Linked DNA regions of Homo sapiens: region 2 is linked to region 1. The links are contacts of gene promoters, found by promoter capture Hi-C in human tissues and cell types (Jung and others, 2019). All regions are on one chromosome and are shown on one strand. Each heading gives the region's core, a stretch centred on a gene start or on the middle of the fragment in contact. The rest is flanking DNA. Distances are from core to core; before and after follow the strand shown.

Region 1 (2,500 bases), core at 1-2,500:
ACCAGTAATTTTAAAGCTAGCTTATTAAAGATTCTACTTAAGTCACATGAACGTGAAAAGCATTTAGGCTTATTATTTAATTTATGAGTACTCTTTAAGTTTAAGCTAAATTTGGTAACTTGTGGCCAAAAACACATAACGAAATATGTGTATGTGCACATATACACACATACACACTCAAGCAAAAGTATGGTTTTACTTCAGAACTCCAGCCATGAGATAGTAATACAAATTCATTGGTTTACACAAACAATAAAAAGAAATGGTTGGATGCAAACAGTGGATTTTATCTCTGTAGAAAAGTAACAGCAGACTTAAAGCAGGCAGAAACGAAAGCAGAAAGAGAACTTAAGAACATTACATTAATAATTGCAGGCCCACCTTTGGGCTCTGATTTTTCCTTTATGTAATTTGCAATTTGTAATTCATGATCCTTGTGCCTGAGGGCTCCCTTCTGCTACTCAGTCTACAATTCCCCGTCCCTGTGAAGGGGCACCCAGGCCTGACAGCCCCAGACTTGGCTTTGCCAACCCTCCAGGTCTCTCCTGCATGGCTAGGACCCAACGCCTAGGTCATCCAGCACTCACCCCAACCAAAGCCATGGGAATTGCTGGGACCCGGAAGGTAGGGGGTGGCACATGTGTGCCCTGTGCTCTGAAGCTGCCCCTACAGGCCCTGGAATCCTCCCCGTGTCTCAACACACTACCCTCTGGGGAGTCAGTTCTCCCCAGAGTCCCCGTTCCTGGGCCTGGAGGGCTGCTTTGGGGCAGGAAACTTTGGCCACCAGGCCTCTGACCTGCACCAGGAGACACTGGGAGGTTTAGTCCCCAAACCCGCACAGAGCAGGACTGCAGCCTGAGGAAAGAGCAAGGATTTCAGGAGAGAGGCCTGCGACAAGTGAGGTGAGGGCTTTTGGGGGATTGTCCTGGCGCCTGGAGTGTGGGGGCCTGGCAGGGGCCCTGAACCGGGACAGTGAGGTCCTGTACTTGCTGGCCTGGGGTGGACAGAACCCAAGCCTGGGTAAAATCCCCAGGGCCCCCTAAACCCAACACTTAGGAAGTCACTAGTCCTGACTTGAGTTTCTGATGAGGAAGCCTCTCTCCTTAGCCTTCAGCCTTTCCTCCCACCCTGCCATAAAGTAATTTGATCCTCAAGAAGTTAAACCACACCTCATTGGTCCCTGGCTAATTCACCAATTTACAAACAGCAGGAAATAGAAACTTAAGAGAAATACACACTTCTGAGAAACTGAAACGACAGGGGAAAGGAGGTCTCACTGAGCACCGTCCCAGCATCCGGACACCACAGCGGCCCTTCGCTCCACGCAGAAAACCACACTTCTCAAACCTTCACTCAACACTTCCTTCCCCAAAGCCAGAAGATGCACAAGGAGGAACATGAGGTGGCTGTGCTGGGGCCACCCCCCAGCACCATCCTTCCAAGGTCCACCGTGATCAACATCCACAGCGAGACCTCCGTGCCCGACCATGTCGTCTGGTCCCTGTTCAACACCCTCTTCTTGAACTGGTGCTGTCTGGGCTTCATAGCATTCGCCTACTCCGTGAAGGTGCGTATGGCCCTGGCGGAAATCCAGGGGGTGCCGGTGAGCCTGGGGCTCCACCTGCCCACATGCTGCCTGGGGTGGGGACTTGTGTGTCCCTGTGACTGTGAGTTTGTGTGCACCTCTGCCCCGTGTGTGCTCACGTCAGTAGCTTTGTCTGTGTGATCTGTGTGTGTGTGTGGCTTTGGGGAATCTGCCCAGTGCAGGTCTAGGAGGAGGCTCCAGGAGGCTGGCTGGCTGGCTCAGAGTCTGTCCCTGGCTATCCATTAGCCCAGAGCAATTCTCCCTATAGCCCAGTAAGAAATTACACCCTCACCTTCCAGACTGGCACCCAGGCTCTCCCAGAAAGTGAGAAGGGAACTCACAGGTGACTTCACCCCATGGTGGGGAGAACAGCCTGTGCTGGGGCCAAGGCAGAAGGAGGATGAGCCCCGAGGCTCCTGGAGAGTCTGAGCCCGGGTGAGGAAGGGGAGGAGGTGGTCCCTGATCTCAGGGCGGGGAGGAGACGGAGCCATAGCACGCGGCTCTCAGCTGGGGGATCCTGGTCCCCTCACCATCTCCTCTCCCCCAGTCTAGGGACAGGAAGATGGTTGGCGACGTGACCGGGGCCCAGGCCTATGCCTCCACCGCCAAGTGCCTGAACATCTGGGCCCTGATTCTGGGCATCCTCATGACCATTGGATTCATCCTGTTACTGGTATTCGGCTCTGTGACAGTCTACCATATTATGTTACAGATAATACAGGAAAAACGGGGTTACTAGTAGCCGCCCATAGCCTGCAACCTTTGCACTCCACTGTGCAATGCTGGCCCTGCACGCTGGGGCTGTTGCCCCTGCCCCCTTGGTCCTGCCCCTAGATACAGCAGTTTATACCCACACACCTGTCTACAGTGTCATTCAATAAAGTGCACGTGCTTGTGATGATGCTGTGACTTCAT
Region 2 (5,172 bases), core at 2,658-5,157, 530 kb after region 1:
CCCAACCCAGCCCTCGTCTCCCTCGACAGCGCCCCTGCTGTCTTCCCCACCGCAGTCACCACCACCCGAAATGCCACGTGGTCACTGTGCACTGCCCTGTTCATGTGCCTCTGCGGGGCAGGGCCTTCCTGGTTTTGTTCACTGCTGTACCCAGATGCCTACAACCATCCCTGCCACATACAGGTGCTCAATAAACACTTGTAGAGCAGATGGACGAGCTCGCTGTGCTGGTAACAGATGGTGGTCTGTTCTCAGGGCCCTCGCATCCAGCAGGGCAGACAGACCCACCCCCGCCCCGCCCAGTGTCAGGACAAAGAAGGGCAGAGCCAGGAGGACACACCCCCCATGGGGCTCCAGGGAAGGGAGGTCTGATGCCAGGGACAGCTGAGCACAGGCCTCAGCAGAAAGAACTGAACATGTTCCTAAATGGTGAGATGGTGTGTTCAGAGCCCCTGGGGGAGAGGAAAAATGGTTTCCAAAACCCTTCTGGCCATGGTGGGGAGCAGACGTGGGAAGGGTGCAGACTGGGGGCCGTGCCCAGGTAAGAGGTGTCAGGCAGGTGGGGTGGGGGCAGTAGGGTGAGGGGGTTTACATGGAGGAGCCTATAGGCCCTGCTGGGGGCCAGAGGGTAGGAGGTACCAGAGCCTGGTGTCTGGCAGAGGTACCCTGGAGATGGGAGCCAGGGCTCGGTCACTGATTGTGCCCCCCACTGCCCAGGTTCCTGTCCTTAAGGCTCAGAACTGTAGACCCTCAGGCAGACCCGTTCTCCCCTACCAGAGGACACCACGCCAGATATCTGGGCAGCAGGGACATCTGACCTGGGGTGCTTGCTGGCAGCACTGCCTGGACAGCAGGGCCTCCTTAGGGCCACCTCCCAACCCAGCTAGGAGCGTCTTAAGGCCTGCCCTCCCTGCTGGGCTTGGGTGGGACGCTCAGGGACAGGCAGCAGTGGGCAGAGGCCAGCAGGTACTGGCAGCCCTGACCACAGCAGAGACTGGGCCCCAGAAAATCTGTTTCTCTCTTCTTTTTCATAGTTGTGTTGAGACAGAGTCTTACTCTGTTGCCCAGGCTGGAGTGCAGTGGTGCAAACACAGTTCACTGCAGTGGCAACCTCCCAGGTTCCAGTGATCCTCCTGCCTCAGCCCCGAGTGGCCGGGACTACAGGTGTGAACACTGTGCCCAGCTAATTTATTAAATTTTGTTGTAGAGATGGGGTCTCATTATGATGCCCAGGCGGGTCTTGAATTTCTGGACTCAAGTGATCCTCCTGCCTTGGCCTCCCAAAGTCCTGGGATTATAGGGGTGAGCCCCTTTGCCCGGCCTAAATCTGGCTCTTCAGATTCCGAGAGAGAGGGTACAGGAGCCTCTCTGCTCAGCCTGAAGAACACCCAGAAGGAGGGAACCTCAAAGAGCCCCGAGATGGAAGGCTCTCCTGGCAGCGCCTCCTGCAGGGGTGCCTGTGGAACAGGCTGGCCCCAGGGCTAGGAGAGTTCATGGCCCAGTCTGCTTCACTGGGCTGCCACAGTGTGAAAGCTGGGCCTAGACCTGGCTCCTGACATCCTAGTGAGGGCTGGGACCTTAGTGGTTCTGAAAGACCTTTACTGGATGGTTCCTTCCAGAGTGGGGTATCGGATACACACACACTGCGGCCAGGCATTACGCCAGCTCCCGGATGCCTCAGCCTCGTGAATTCGGGGCAGGACGCTCAGGGCCCATGGTCAGCACAGCGGGTGGGTGGGTTCCAGCGTGGTCACTTCTCCAGGGGTGCATAATTGAGCAGCTTCTCGATCAGGTCCACGTGGGCCAGCAGCATCCGGCGGCAGCAGTAGCGCTTCAGGCCCAGGGCATCCAGCGCATCCCTGTGTCGAGGGGAGGAGCAGAGGCCAACTGAGTTCTCTACGGTCTGCAAAGGCCTGGAGCCCACATCCAACCTGCCTCTCACTGCCTGCTGGCCTCACCCCCCCCGCCACCGGCAAGGCGAACAGATTCACCCGGCTCAGAAGCTGAGATCTAGCAGTATGATCCTGGCTGGAGTAACCTGGAAATGCCCAGAACCCTGGGTGGAGCGTGAGGAGCCTCCTCTCCCACCTACTCTGGCTGTACGTGTGTGTGTATAACGTATGTAAGAAATGTAAATGAAATGAAAACGAAGTAATTGCGGGGAGCTTAGAAAACCAAGACCACCAAGGTGCTGATGTGCAGCCACCTCATCCAGCACTGGCCACGGCAGGGTAGCTCTCCAGGGGCCTGCCCTTAGCTGGTTCACCCCCACCCCAGCCAGAGCAAGCCCTGCTCTGCCGCTGTGGGGTCTTTCCTCACCTCTGCTTCCTTCCATCAGAGAGAGACTGCTTCTCCACGGAGCCACCTCTCCCACTTCCCAAGCCAATTAGAAGCTTTCATTTCCCTGGGACCTAGCTCCAGTCACCCTCAAGACCTCCAGAAAACTCCCACACCGATGGCTCCAATGTGCAGAGACACAGAAGCTTGGGAAAGGGGAGGCCACATGGGAGGCCCCTGCCGTTCCTATCCGGGGAAAGGGTCTGGACAGGCCGCCAGCCACTCAGTCTAGCAGCCCACTCGCTTTCCTCGTTTGTCCAGCAAGCTGCACCAAGTGCCGATGGCAGGCTGGCGCACACAAGCCCAGGGCTTCACATGTGACGAAGACTCAGTGGGCGAGGGTCAGACTCCAGCGGGGGCACCAAGACTCAGGCACCGTGGTGACAGCAGCACCAAGGGACAAGCACAGGAGAAAGACGCCTCCCCTACAAAGCCTGATGAGGGTGGTCAGCAAGTCTACCCTGCATTTCTTTTTCTGTGTGTGTGTGTGCGTGAGACGGAGTTTCACTCTCTCTTCCAGGCTGGAGTGCAGTGGCGTGATCTTGGCTCACTGCAACCTCCACCTGCCTCCCAGACTCAAGCGATTTTCTCGTCTCAGCCTCCCAAGTAGCTGGGACCACAGGTGTGCACCGCCATGTCCGGCGAATTAAAAAGATAGAGCCAGGCGCGGTGGCTCACGCCTGTAACCTCAGCACTTTGGGAGGTCGAGGCGGGTGGATCACCTGAGGTCAGGAGTTCCAGACCAGCCTGGCCAACATGGCGAAATCCCATCTCTACTGAAAATACAAAAATTAGCCGGGCGTGGTGGCACACGCCTGTAGTCCCAGCTACTCGGGAGGCTGAGACAGGAGAATTGCTGGAGCCCAGGAGGCGGGGGTTGCAGTGAGCCGAGATCGCGCCACTGCACTCCAACCTGGGCGACGGAGCGAGACTCCGTCTCAAAAAAGAAAAATAAAATAAAATAAATTTCTGGAGATCAGGGTCTCCCCAGGTTGTCCAGGCTGGTCTCGACCTCCTGGGCTCAAGCAAGCCTCTCGCCTCGGCCTCCCAAACTGCTGGGATTACAGATGTCAGCCGCCGCGCCCGCCCGTCCTGCAGCGAGGTTTGCAGGACATGGGGTGGGCCTGGGGGCAGAGATGGGAATAGGGCGGAGGCCAAGGGCTTTACTGCGGGTGACAAGACGCCTGCGACCCGCCAGGCCACCTAGAATCCCCAGGACACCACTGGTTTGAAGCCCAACTCCGTTCTCTTCCCCAGACTTCAGGGGATAAGGTTCTCCCGAAAGCAGATCACAGAGCGGGGCTGGAGAAGCCGGGCCTGAAGCTGCTCATGGGGCGCTGGCCTCAGGCAGCGCTGCGCCTCCCGCCCCGGCGCGCACCCCAGGGCGGACTCAGCCCCCAGCCCCGGCCCGCGCCCCACGGCGGACTCAGCCCCTAGCCCCGGCCCGCGCCTCACCCCTCGGTGTACTCGGCCTGCAGCAGCCCCAGGTAAGCCTCCCACTTGTTGCCGACGATCTTGCCACAAGTGAAGCAGCGTACAGGGATGATCATGGCGGCGGCGCGTCCCAGACTGCCCGGCCCGGCCCGGCCGCACGCGAAGAACCCCCCCAGGCCCCGCCCCGGGCGCGTCCACTGTTGCGGGAGAATCGGCTCCGCTCGTTCTCCGCTGTTCCGGCCGTCCCTCCACCGGCCCCGCCACCGCTGGCCGCAGTTTCCGCCGCGATAGGGGCTTCCCGTGCGTCCCGGGGCTCCTGGGCCTGTGCGTCCCGGGGCTCCCGGGCCCGCGCGGCCGCGGCAGCAGCAGACCGCACACCCCCGCCCACCGTCTTGGTGCATCCCGGCGCTACGGCGTCTGAGCAGGGCCGTAAAGCTGCGGCGGCGGTTCGCGTTTCTCGTGTCCGCTTGACTGACAGCTGCGCGGCGGGAGCGGGCGGCGCGAGCGGGAGGCGGCGGCGCAGGTACTGCGCCTGGGGGTTGTGGGGGCGTGCGGCCAGGGTCCCGTGGCCGGAGGTGTCCGACCGGGAGCGGCTGGAGCCGGACGCGAGCGGGGCGCGCGAGTTCGAGCCCAGAGCCGACACGCAGCAACAAGTGGGGTCCGGCGCGGGGGCTCGGGGAGAGGGCGGGCGGGGGCCGGGGCGGGTCTTCCTGCCGCCCCTCCTGGCCGCGCCGAGTAGTGGGTTCCTCCGCCTCGGCCTCTGCCCGCGGGGTGTCCGGGGCTCTCGGCGCTGAGTTCGGGGGTCCCATTCTGGACGCGGCCCAGCCCCTAGGGGCGCCGCCCTGGCCTCAGCTGCGCAATTACAGCCCCCGCCGGCAGCTCCCCGCCCCGGGCTCCTGTCCGCGTTCTTTCCGCTCTTTCCCGGGAATGGGGTCGGGGTGCGCCCTCCCGGGTCCCGGCTCTGCTGGCTGCTCGCCGTCCCGAGCTCCCGACGCTCAGACGCGCCTCTGAGCACGGGGAGAGGGGACCCGGGAGGGAGGTCGGGGAGGGAGTCGTGGAAGAGGTGCTTTTTGAGCTGAACCTGGAAGACCCCGGCACAGGGGATCCCTGGGCAGACTCCCGGAGGCTGCACTGGCAGGACCCCCTGAAGGCCTCAGCTCTGGCTTGCCCTGGAGCTCAGGGCCTACGGACGACGAGGGACGAGGAGCCCGTGTCTCTCGGATGGAGTGCGGGGGGGCTGGCACCAGCACCCTTCTTGCTGTGCCCCTGGGGTGGGGGTGAGGAAATGGGGGGTCGGTGTGCAGTGAGAGGCAAAGAAGGCTCCTTGGAGGTGCGAGGTGGGCTGTGGGGGTGGGTGGGCCGCAAAGCGGCACCCATGGGGGGCTCTGGGCTGGTTTGCCG

The links. The method cuts DNA at HindIII sites, captures the fragments that hold promoters and counts their contacts. A contact is called where the count stands out against the background at its distance.
Region 2: the fragment with the promoter of POLR2L here is called in contact with the fragment with the promoter of IFITM1 in region 1 in 1 of the 25 tissues and cell types used here (small bowel).

Annotation. Positions count from the first base shown.
Region 1 is chr11:312,790-315,289 of GRCh38, forward strand. IFITM1 (interferon induced transmembrane protein 1) reads left to right here and starts at 1,251. Exons shown (of 2, transcript NM_003641.5): 1 at 1,251-1,567; 2 at 2,133-2,483. The coding sequence starts at 1,382. The coding sequence ends at 2,324. RefSeq lists enhancers at 636-1,191, 1,192-1,747, 1,215-1,554, 2,085-2,244. The HindIII fragment of the contact is 8,559 bases long and covers 1-2,500 here.
Region 2 is chr11:838,622-843,793 of GRCh38, forward strand. It overlaps POLR2L (RNA polymerase II, I and III subunit L), which reads right to left and starts at 3,908. Exons shown (of 2, transcript NM_021128.5): 1 at 3,793-3,908; 2 at 1,100-1,859. The coding sequence starts at 3,887. The coding sequence ends at 1,751. It overlaps TSPAN4 (tetraspanin 4), which reads left to right and starts at 4,231. Exons shown (of 9, transcript NM_003271.5): 1 at 4,231-4,294. It overlaps CD151 (CD151 molecule (Raph blood group)), which reads left to right. Exons shown (of 9, transcript NM_004357.5): 9 at 1-210. RefSeq lists enhancers at 1-339, 2,167-2,911, 2,912-3,657, 3,658-4,401 and silencers at 1,392-1,441, 3,670-4,299, 4,410-4,499, 4,520-4,749, 4,735-4,903. The HindIII fragment of the contact is 28,886 bases long and covers 205-5,172 here.